Linked DNA regions of Homo sapiens: region 2 is linked to region 1. The links are contacts of gene promoters, found by promoter capture Hi-C in blood cells and fetal thymus (Javierre and others, 2016). All regions are on one chromosome and are shown on one strand. The core of a region is centred on a gene start or on the middle of the fragment in contact, and the rest is flanking DNA. Distances in the headings are between cores, read along the strand shown.

Region 1 (5,862 bases), core at 1,999-4,498:
TGATTGTGGAATTCTTGTTTTCTGTTCCTCTCTGAGCTCTGCTGAGAGTGCGTACAAACTAGCTTAGGGGCAGCAAATACATAGGGGCTTTATATTTGGAGGGGCTCCATATAGGGGTATGGAAATATTCTTTGTGGTCCAGAATATATTTCAGATCATAATTCATTGCCAGACTGATGTCCTTAAGTGAACACAAAAGACAAAGAGGACCAGGGAAGAAAAATAATTCAATGGATAAAGTAAATAACTCAATGGGTTAGTATCTCCATGGAGACCATAAAATGCATCATCTCTATGGAGACTCTCATAATCTCCTTCTGGACTTACGGTAGTGTATAACCTGTTGTAATCATACATTGGGGGTGGAGGGAAAGTGACAAGAGGAAGAGGGTGAGAGGATGATCCTTTTCTTTCCTTGGTGGAAATGATAGCTATTGCCACTCTAAGTTTAATCAATTATGGTATTGTATTCATCCAAAGTTAGGATTCTGGGAGACCAGGTCCCTAGGATGGGTTAAGAGGCACCTGAGGATCTAATGTTTATATGCCCAGTACTGAACTGGGTATCTGACATGTATTAATAGTTGGTATTCAAAAAAGGTGTGAATGAATGAACATAATAGGCAATTGCACCGGATCTGATCCCGGGCTCAGGCCCTGTGCATCATCTCTGTTGTGCAAAAACAAATAAGGTGGAGACCTACTTCTGCCATGGGGAATACTCGGTACTACCTGCATAGGGCCAAGGAGAACCAGTAACTCCCATGTTGCTTCCTTCCCTTCTTTCGATAAGAATGGTGCTCAACAGTATGAACATTGTCAAAGGATGAAACAATGGTCAGTGTGGAGAGAAGATAAACAGGGTTCGGGGCAACAGACCAGCTAATGGATGCAAGTCACTGTGTCCAGAGAAGTTACATCCTGCCGGAATCTCCCTGTTTTGAGCCTCACTAGCCTCAGGACACAAACTAGGATTCCGGTTATTTTTTTATACCCAGGGTACTATGGGCCTTTGTCCCCCATCTGCTGTGACTTATTTGCTGGCAATTAGCCCACTGCAAAGTGATTTCTGAGCATTTACCATGGTAATGTCTCAGATCAGCATCCAGACATTTCCATCCATTCATCTAGTTTCTTGCTCTTTATCTTGGTGCCAGGTTATTGCCCTGGCTCTGCTGACCCTAGAAGAATATTTTTACTGTCCCTTTTCTATGCTTAGACATGTTTAGATCCACAAATATTTACCATTGTGTTATAGTTGCCTCCAGTATTGAGTTCAGTCACATGCTGTTCAGGTTTGTGGTCCAGGTGCAATACGTCATACCATATAGCCTAGGTGTGTAGTAGGCTATGCCATCTAGGTTTCTGGAAGTACACTCTATGATGCTCACGTGACAAAATCAACTAAGAACACATTTCTCAGAATGTATACCCATTGTTAAGCAATACATGACTGTGTGTCTGTAGGCCATATATATTAATATATATATAGTCATTTGAGATCAGTCTATATACAGTGTTTTGTACCCTGTATTTTCTTTAATAATATATAATGAATACATTTTCCCCATTACTAGGTACTGAAAGACATAATTTTAAATGACTACATAGTACTCGTATGAAAATGCTATTATTTACTTAACCTCTGTGAGACTTTTTGGCTGTTCCGTTTCCCCAGGATTCTAAACATCACTGTGTCTTCTTACATGCATTCTTCCACACTTCTTGGTTGTTGCCTTAGGATATGTTACTTTAGGTAGAATTCCTGGGCTGCGCTGAAGAATAGAAACATTTTAAAGATTCACATTCTTGCTTGTTTTGCTGTTCGCCTCTTTAGGTACCATATTTTTTAGGTGTACAAAATTTATACACCTGATTTTAAGTTCCTGGGTATCAGGGTTCATACTTCTCTTAATTTTGTATTTCCTTGCAGTCCTACTTACGGGTGGCAGGGCTCCTCAAGGGATGGGTGTACCAATGACAACCATGAAAGTATTCTAAGGTATTCCCTAGGACTCCGAGAAAAAACATGCATCTTTCCAAAGGGAAAGAAGGGATTAGATGTTAGCATCCTACTCCATGTCAGATCCAGAGCACCCGGGGGAACTGAAGTTCGTGGATGGAATACAATGACACCTCAGAAAAGAAATACTCCTTTGGTGGAGGCCTTTAAACTTTTGGGGGCTCATTTTGTCTGCCTAACTCGCCCAGCCAGGGCGCAAAATGGCCACTTAGGAGCATGAGTGAGGTGCCAGCGTCCCTACAATCTAAGGAGCAGGGAGTCATCACTGGGGTGGCTGCCGCTCTACCTGTTTGCGACTGTAATAAAACACCTTCTGGAGGCCGAGGGACCCGCTTCATCCTGACTTTTCCCCTCAGTAGCTAGAGAGAAGGCGGCTGAAAAGAGGAGACAGAACTGGTGCTGAGTGGGCCTGGAGCTTCCGAGGCAAGGGAAAGAGGGAGAGGGCTGCAGTTCAAAGTCCAGACGCGCTTTCCTTCCATTCTCTTCCCTTCCTCCCTGCCCTCTGCGCCCCATTTTCCCCTTATCGTGGGTGGGGGCTTCTGATTTGCTGCGGATCCCAGAGATGGTGGGGTTCAGCCTCCGCACTGCTTAGCTAAGTTCCCAGCCCAGCAGTCCCAGCCGGGCTGTTTTCGGTAACCAAAGCACTAGGAATTAACCTCTCTCTCGGCCTCTTCCCTTTCGGTTTCCTTCTTGGGTTGGCTGGAAACTTCACCCAGACACCGAAGCAGCTCTGCCCGGCCTTTTGGCACAGGCCACCGGCCGAGGCCCCACGGGGCGCTCTCCTTCCCCAGGTGCCCCCGACTCCGATCCTGCCCTCAGGGGCTCGCCCGGGACGCGTTTTCCCAGAGGCCGCCGGGGCGGGGTGGGCTGGCTGGCGGGAAGAGGGGGCCGCGGCCCAGGCTCGCCCCGGCGCCGGCCCGGTGGGCACGCGGCCAGCCTCCGGCCCCGACTCGGTCCCTCCCGGCGCCCGCCCCAGCCGAGGCCCCCTCCCGGCCCCGCCGCCCGCCCGCGGGGGCGTGGGAGCGCCGCAGGAGCAGCTGGGACCCGGGCCGGGCCGACAGGCGGCGGCTGCGGCCTAGGGCTCCCGCGCGGCCACCGGCCTCTCCCCTCCCCCTCCCGGAAGCGCGGGGCGGGGTCCCCGGCCGGGCCGTGGGGGCGGGCGCGGGGGCCGGGCCGGGGCGGGACGCGCTCGGCGCTCGCGGGCTCGGCGGGCTGTGCGCGCCCACTCCGGCTCCAGCGGCCAGCGCGCGCGGGCCCAGGCCGCCCGGCTCCAGCCCAGCAGTAGCGGCAGCAGCGGCGGCGGCGGCAGTGCGCGCGAGGCCCTGCGCCCCCAGCAGCTCCTCCCTGGCGCCGTGCATGGAGACGCGGCCCGCCACCCGCCGCTGAGCCCCCGCCGCCCGGCCGGGACCCGCCAGGGCTGGGGTGGCCTCGGGCTCCGGCCGGCCCCGCCGCCCGAGGGCTGCGCGCGGCCCGCGGGCCTCGCCGCCCCGCGCGGATCGTCGCGGCCCGGCCGTCCCGTCCCAGGAAGTGGCCGTCCTGAGCGCCATGGCTCACTCCCCGGTGCAGTCGGGCCTGCCCGGCATGCAGGTAGGCGGGCGCGGGCCGCGGGGCCGGGATGCGCGACCGGGGCGGAAGCAGCAACTTGGCGGTATCCACACGGCGTCCCCCTACGCTCAGCCGGCCGGGGTCGCGCCGGAGCCTGGCTCCCCGCGCGCCCGGCTCGGCCGGGGGTCCGAGTCCGAGTCCCTGGGCGTCCCTGCCGGCTCCGGCGGCCGAGGTCTCCGGCGTGTGCGTGCAGGAGCCGTAGGAACCGCGGCCTGGGTCCGGATGTGGGGGTGCGGGCGCCTAGTCCTCCGCGCTCCCCTCGCCCCAACACTCTTCCGGAGCTGCAGGCCCTGGGTGGCCCTGTCCCCGGGAGAAGTGAGGTGGAGTGATGCCCTTGGAGGCCCCCGCCGGGTCCCGGGGCCCTGCGTGGTGGCCGGGTTGGCGGAGGGCCCCAGGACGCGTCCCCCAGGCTCGTCCCCCACCCCCGGGCAGGCGGGCGGGAGACCTGGGCAGGGCGGGGACGGGGAGCGCGCCTGGACTCGTCCGGGCCCGAGCGGAGTAGGCAGGGTGGAGTGGAGGAAGGTAACCGCGAGTTCCACTTGCAGTGGCTTTGCCCGGAGCCCCCGTGCACCTGCGGACCGGGGGAAAGTGCGAGTTGCAAACCTTCTGGAAGGAGGAATCCCTCGGACAGCCGCGCACCAGGGTCCCGGGCCCGGCCCCGGGACCCTGGACTTTCACTTTGAGACTTGGTTGCATTTACAGGAATTCTTCGCCCAGTAAACCTCTCTTTCGGTACTTGGTGACACCTTGGCCTACCAGTGACTTTTTGGGGAGTGGGAGAGGAGTTGAATTTCAAATTTACATGTATAAGTTAAAGGTTTTTTGTTGTTGTTGTTTTCGTTGTCGTTGCTTTTAGCCCTTTGAAAAACAAAGCTACCGTCCTTGGCTAACTCTTGTAAACTTTGTAGGCGCAGAAATGGTGGCAAAATGCTTAGGATGGAAATCTTAGGATGCAGTTAGGATATGTCATGAAAGTTTGCTCTGCCAGTTTAGCTGAGTGAACGTTAAGTGTTTGAAGAAAACCAAAAGCATCCAAGTAGATTACTGGTTGATTTACAGGTACCAACAGGCTCCTTCCCTGTGTCTTGAGGGCTGAGAAGCACAGAGCCCAGACCTGGGACTGCCTCTGGGGTCTGCTCGCCTCTTCCAGTGAGATCATCCCTCTCCCTTCTTTTTTTGAAACCGTAAAAAGAAAACTGGATTTCACTGTTCAGGTTTGAATTCTGGAAAAATAGGAACTCAAAGTTACCACTTTAATGGCAGCTAGAATTTTAGTCCAAGTGTGTGTGTGTGTATATGTGTGTGTGTGTGTGTGTGTGTATATATAAGCAGTATATATATGTGTGTATATATGTTTAAGCAGTAAATAAATATACATTTAAGCAGCAACAGTTAAGTTATTATCTTAAGAGTGACTGGGAAGATGCTTGAAGAATATTCTTTTGTCGACTCTCATTTAAGGAGCGTTGAATTTAGCATGCATTCAAAACCTAAACTTCTGCTGACTGCTGGGTAACAATCAGATGTGGTTTCTTGGTATTTTCTAAAGCCGCTTTGGTATGAATTTAGAGGTGTGTAGGTCAGAGTGAACTGGGTGAAAAAAGTAATTTCTTACTAGTCGAGCAAGAAAGGACTCTTGTAATGATTTAAAAAAAAAGTTTTATCAATATTTCCTTTAGGTTGATATTTATACCGTGTTCATCAGGTTGGAATCTAGCACAAATGCCTCACTTACTAGGTTAATTGGCCTTTGTGGATAGCGAATCAGTTTGAAAAGGTACTAAAGCCCCTTTGGCTGGTGCCGTGAAGTCAGTATCAGATGGTTACCAGGTGATATCTAGTATCTCACCTTTTCATTTTTATCCTCACTTTTTTTTTTGAGTGGGTCAGAATTCTTAAACCTTGGGAAAAGAAGATACATTTCCTTAATAACTTTGCCTCTCAACTATTATGTATCTGTTAGGTTGTGTTACATGGGAACTGTTTTTATTTTGTTTTCTCAGTATGAAAGATCTTAAGTGTTTCTCAGTGGAAAAGATGATCAGATTTTCAGCTGTTACAGTTTTACAGTTTTAGAGGTAGGTAAGTTGGCTTCTGCCAGTCATTCCTGTACCTAAGTACATCTACAGACTGTATGGTAACAGTGTATCATTTGGGGAAGAACATTCTTTTCTCCTCCCCCACCCCACAAAAGAAAAACAACAGCACATTTATTTTCTACTTCAAATTAGCAG
Region 2 (6,093 bases), core at 438-2,937, 2.0 Mb before region 1:
CAGTTTATTCCAGACAACATAACACTTCACCCCTAAATTGTTCAGTATGTTTCTCCAGAGAAAGGGCATTTGCTTGTGTAACCATAATACAATTATCACCTCCTGATGAAATTGACAATAATTCCTTAACATTTTCTAAAACCTAGTCCATGATCAGATTTCCCTGATCACCTCAAAAATGAACTTATTTTTACTGTTGGTTTGTTTGAATCCACATCCAGACAAGAATTTGTTGACTGTTACCTTTTTATTTTATTTTATTTTTTGAGACAGGAACCAGCTCTGCTGAGATCATGGCTCACTGTAACCTCGAACTCCTGGATTCAAGCCATCCTCCCACCTCAGCCTCCTGAGTAGTTGGGATTACAGGCATGTGCCACAATGCCCAGCTATTTTTTTTTTTTTTTTTTTTTTTTTTTTTTTTTGGTGGAGACAGGTATTGCCCAGGCTGGTCTTTTTTTTTTTTTTCCTTCCTGAGACGGAGTCTCACTCACTCTTGTCACCCAGGCTGGAGTGCAGTGGCACAATCTTGGCTCACTGCAACCTCCGCCTCCTGGGTTCAAGTGATTCTCATGCCTCAGCCTCCCAAGTAGCTGGGACTACAGGCGCATGCCACCACACCCAACTAATTTTTGTATTTTTAGTAGAGACGGGGTTTCACCATGTTGGCCACACTGGTCTGGAGCTCCTGAACTCAAGTGATCCACCTGCCTCTGCCTCCCAAAGTGCTGCGATTACAGCCGTGAGCCACCGTGCTCAGCTGTTGCCCCTTTCAATCTAGGGCAGGGGTGGCAGATGTCTCTGTGAAGAGCCAGATACCAGCTCTTTCAGGCTTTGCAGGCCCTATGGTCTCTGCCACAACTGCTCAGCTCTGCCATCGTCATGCAGAAGTAGCCAGGGGTGATAGTAAATGGATAAGCATGGCTGTGTTCCAATAATACTTAATTTCCAAAGCTTTTGTGTTTTAAAATCCACCCACAGGCTGGACTTACCCGCAGGCTGTGGTTTGCCGACCCAAGTCTAGAGCAGCCTTGGCGGGTTTCCTCAATACCAATGACTGTCGATGTTACTTGGTTGATTGCCTGTAGGGTGCCTCACACTCTGGATCTGTTGGGCTGCTTTTCGTGGAGTGTGGTTTGGCTTGCTTCTCTATCCCCTATATTTCCTGTAAACTAGAAGTTAGATCTAGAGGCTTAATTAGGTTCATGCTTGCCATTTTTGGCAAGTCTACTTCAGAAGTGGTTTGACTTTTTTTAAATCTAAATTTATCTGACTTTAAAGACTTGGAAACCCTCATCAAAGAATCAAAGAAGCTCAACATTACCAAAATAGGAGCTCAGCATTACTAAAATTGGCTTTGCCTGATGGCTGAGAAGACATTTTTTCTTTTTCTTTTTACTTTTCTTATTTGTAGGAGAGTATATAGAGCTGTTATTTCTCAAATAGTTCTTTTTTGATAGTTAATTTTTGTGGGTACCTAGTAATAGGTGTATATGAGATACAATGTGTAATAATAAACCCTCATTACAAGGTATATGAGATACAATGTGTAATAATCACATCAGGGTAAATGGGGTATCCATCACCTCAAGCATTTATCTTTTGTGTTACAATCTAACGATACTCTTAGTTATTTTTAAATGTATAGTTACATTATTACTGACTATAGTCACCCTGTTGTGCTATCAAATACTAGATCTTATTCCTGCTTTCTGTGTTTTTGTACCCATTAACCATCTCTGCTTTCCCCCAACCCCCCTACTACCCTTCCTAGCCTCTGGTAACCATCATTCTGATCTCTATCTCAGTCAGTTCAATTGTTTTAATTTTTGGCTCCCACAAATGAGTAAGAACATGCAAAGTTTGTCTTTCTGTGTCTGGGTTATTTCACGTCACATAACGACCTCCGGCTGCACCATATTGTTGCAAATGACAGGATCTCCTTTTTAATGGCTGAATAGTACTTCATTGTGTATATGTACCACATTTTGTCAAGGAGGTCTTGAGAACTTTGAACCCTTTCTCTAGGTCACTGGGAAGGTTCCTCTATTCAAGGCATTCTTTGGCCCCTCAAGCATGTGGACTGCATTTTTGCACTGAATATAAGTATATTCCTTCCCTGGGTATGTGCCCAGGGTCTGAGATTGCCTTCTAATGGTAGTTAGGTCATTTATGTTTGTTTGTAAGCCCCTTATTGCTTAAATGTTTAACTTTCTTCAGTTGACTTCCTCTTATCTCACCTCCCAACAGGACTGAAAACTGGATATTTGGTCCCCATGGACTTTCTGGTCACCCTGTGAAGTGGACTTAACTTTTTCTTGAATCATGTGGAAGGATTCTGAAGTCAAAAGTTTTTAAGACTCTCAGGCTTACTGTGGATCTGGATTCTAAGGCAACACTTCCTTGAAGAAACAAGCTTACAGGTGAGAACTGTTAGCCTCTGTTCTAGAGTGTTCATTGCTCAAATTCTAGAGCACCACAAGAAGTATGCTGACAAATAGTGCCAGTTGGAAGCCCTTGTCTCTTTGTCATTTAAGAATAGTAGTGGTGGGGAGCCAGGTACGGTGGCTTGTACTGTAATTCCAGCACTTTAGGAGGCTGAGGCAGGAGGATTGTTTGATCCCAGGAGATTGAGGCTGCAGTGAGCTGTGATTACACTGATTATGCCATTGTGCTCCAGCCTGGGCAACAGAGTGAGACCCTGTCTCAAAAAATTAAAGGAGGAGGGAAAGGGAAGGAAAGAATAGTAGAGAAAGTGTATATTCATTTCTTCATCTGTTTTTCTCTGGGGTTGTCTTTTGATTTATAAGAATTATTTATACATTGAGAATACTAATCTTTTGTCATACGTACTATAACTATTTCCACCCTATTTTTTGTACTTTGTGTAATACAGTCTCTAGGCTTTGCAAAAAATTTTAATTTTATGTACTTAAAAATATCGATCTCCCCTTTATAGTGTCTTTGTTTTGTGTTTTGCTTAGAAAGACTTGCCCATTTTAAGGTTTCTTTTAAAAATTCGTGTTAACACAGATAAATGAAAATGTAATGAGAGCTAGGAACATGTGATTCTGAAAAAGATTATTGAAGGGGGAGTATTTCCAGACAATAAATACCAAACTAATGTTGGCATTAAGATTGGCCGTATGTTGCTAAGTGTTGAAGTTGGGAGATGAGTATTTGAGAGTTCCTTCTATCATTACCCTAGTTTTGTACATATTTTACTTTCCATAACACAGTTTTTTTTACCAAGAAAAAAATAGCAGGGGGAAGTTATATCTTTGTCCCATTCATTCATATTCAGCAGCTATTTATTAAGCTATTCTGAACACTGGAGGGTATCATGTTAATGAATGAAAAAGGTGTTGGAATTTCTATTATGTGGGAGACAAATATTAGCATCATGGTTAAGGGCACCAACTTCTGTGTCAGACCGCCTGGCTTCTCGTCCTGACACTGCCACTTACTAGCTGGGTGATTTTGGACTTTTTAATTAAAAATATGTGTATAATAACAGCTGTCTGGAGGCTCTAGGGAGAATCTGTTTTCTTCCTTTTTGCAGCTGCTAGAGGCCACCTGCATTCCTTGGCTTATTGGCCCTTTCCTCCATATTCAAAGCTAACAATATTACCCTTCTCTGACCCTGCTTTTGTCGTCACATCTGTCTGATCTGATCCAGGGCAGGTTTTCCAGTTTTAAGGATTCCTCATTTGATTAGATTGGGCCCACTTGGATAATCCAGATTGATCTCTGCACCTCAAGGTCCTCACATCTGTGAAGTCCCTTTTGGCATAGGAGTTAACATATTCATAGGTTCCAGGGATTAGGATGTAAACATCTTTGGGTGGCCATTATTCTGCCAACCACAGATTTGAGGAGACAAAAGAAGGTGAATGTGGCTGAGTCCTTGGCAGGGAGGAGATGGGACTGGAGAGGGAGCCAGGGAGAGAGGATTCTGTAGGTCATCATAAGTTTTGAAGTTCCTCCCAACAGTAAGAGGAAGTTATGGTCAGATTTATTGCCCCAAATCTGAAATCAGCTGTTTCTCCAAGGAGCCCTGGTTAGCTGTTTTAAAGTGAAAAATGGTACTTAAAGGCCATAATCTGGCCCTAATAAGGTGCTCATTGCTGTTGGATTGGCAGTTGTTTTTAAGCCATTTCAACAGACAGAGACAGGGAAAACCATTGTTCAAGATAAAATATTTCATGAGCGCATACTGGTAACATCCAAGTCTTTTTCTGGACTACAACGTTTTTGCTTAATGTCATAGAACTTATATCCATACCCCTTTCTTCCACTCCAGAAATCTCAGTTCAGAACAACCCAGCATAATTTATTATTTGCTTTAGCCCTCACCCCACAGAGTCACTGCCACAGGGGTGTGGGGATTGGGAGGAAGACCATGGAGATAAAGTGTCATTTTTGCTACATCGTATCAAGCACACATACTGTCTACATGACTTCTCTCTTTTGCTGTTGATCTTGATTACCTGACTGAAATAGTGATTGGCAGGTTTCTCCACTGTAAAGTCACACTTTCCCCCTCCCTTCATACTGTGCTCTGAAAGGAAGTCACAGTGAGCAGCCTGCACTTCTGAAGGGAGGAGTTATTTAGGCTTCATCTCCTTAAGGGGAAAGTGTCTACATATGTTATTTGGAATTCTTCCGTGCAGGAGGGTTATCTGTTTTCTTGCATTTATTTACTCAGCCATTTATATCATTATGGACTCACAGATACTTATATTATACTTTAGGTTCTAATCCAATACTCCTTATTTTGTTCTCCAGTTGTTCCTGCTTTGGCCATTGGGAGCCTGTTCCATTGTCTCTTGTGTCCTTTCAACTTGTCCCATCTTTGTGGGCTGGTGGGTTTGTTTATTTTTGAGCACTTCCTTGCTTTCCAATATTGCTAGATGCCCTAGATTGATCTTGTGTATTTCCTGCTTCAGTCTTAGGTTCAGCCGTTTCTCTGGGGAACCCTGGTCCCCTCTGTTGGAGATGGTGTTAGAAACCACAAGCTGGATGCTGGTGTGCTCATTTCGACTGTGGTGGCATTGCTTTTAGGTCCTCTCAGCTGATGGAGCAAGGAAATGTCTGTGTGTACTGACCTGTGTATATACACATATCACTAAATACTTCTGTATGGAACCATTTGTTTCTGTGAGTCCACACTGGTGTCTCCAGCCCTAATCCTTTACCCCGTGGATCACTCTTGCGTTTTCCCTGCTGTCTCTCACCTCCCATTCCAACAGTGAGAAACGTGGCTCCCATTGCCTGTGGCACATTTGCCTACTTGTTCAGTACATATGTGTGTATCACAGTGTTGGAATTGCCATCTCGCCCTATGGGAACCACTTAAACAACGAGAGCCCGGTTTTTATGAATATACACAGTTCCTTTTGCCTTTAGTCTTGTAACTGTAGACTGGGCCAACAGGTGAAAGTTTCTTTGGGCAGGCTGAAATGAGATCCTACTACCTTGAGAACATCTTAACAGTCAGATCTACAGGGTGCAGATTTCATAGCTTCCCCCTGGCAGTTCTTCCATCACTTGTGAGCCCTGGCTGTTTTATTCTGCCTAAGCCAAGGCAGCCTTTGCTATCCTGACTTGACACAGAAGAGTTACTTAGTAACTGTGTTCATTTGCTAGGGCTTCCATAGCAAATTACCACAAACTGGGAAGCTTAAGACAACAAAAATTTATTCTCTGCTCACAGAATCCAAAACCAGAAATCAAGGTGCTGTCAGGGCTGCCCTCCCTCCAAAGGCTGTATGGAAAGTCCTTCCCTACCTTTTTCAGCTTCTGGCGGCTCCAGGCGTTCTGCGGCAAGTGGTCGCACACCTCCCGGCTCTGCTGTGTCTTCACATGGCCCCCTCCTCGGTGTCTGTCTTCTGTCCCTCATAAGGATATTTGCCATTGGATTCAGGGCCCGTGTAGATTGCCCAGGATGATCTCATCTCAGCTTCCCTAATTAATCACATGTGCAAAGTCCCTTTGCCGTGCGAGGTGCCATAGTCAAAAGTTCCAGGGATTAGGGCATGGACATGTTTGCTGGGGACCTTTGTTCTGTCAGCCTCACTTTGTGATGCAGCA

What was found. The method cuts DNA at HindIII sites, captures the fragments that hold promoters and counts their contacts. A CHiCAGO score of 5 or more calls a contact.
Region 2: a contact is called between a fragment that was not itself captured here and the fragment with the promoter of STK24 in region 1, in 1 of 17 cell types (activated CD4 T cells). The highest score is 5.9, in activated CD4 T cells.

The regions. Positions count from the first base shown.
Region 1 is chr13:98,574,493-98,580,354 of GRCh38, reverse strand. STK24 (serine/threonine kinase 24) reads left to right here and starts at 3,248. Exons shown (of 11, transcript NM_001032296.4): 1 at 3,248-3,610. The coding sequence starts at 3,569. It overlaps STK24-AS1 (STK24 antisense RNA 1), which reads right to left and starts at 3,100. Exons shown (of 1, transcript NR_046542.1): 1 at 1,514-3,100. RefSeq lists an enhancer at 2,535-2,724 and silencers at 2,815-2,964, 2,985-3,294, 3,345-4,214, 5,679-5,738. The HindIII fragment of the contact is 9,197 bases long and covers 1-5,862 here.
Region 2 is chr13:100,580,155-100,586,247 of GRCh38, reverse strand. GGACT (gamma-glutamylamine cyclotransferase) reads left to right here. Exons shown (of 3, transcript NM_001195087.2): 2 at 2,251-2,423. Among named protein-coding and RNA genes, the nearest start is that of GGACT, 5.6 kb to the left of the region's middle. The HindIII fragment of the contact is 1,462 bases long and covers 957-2,418 here.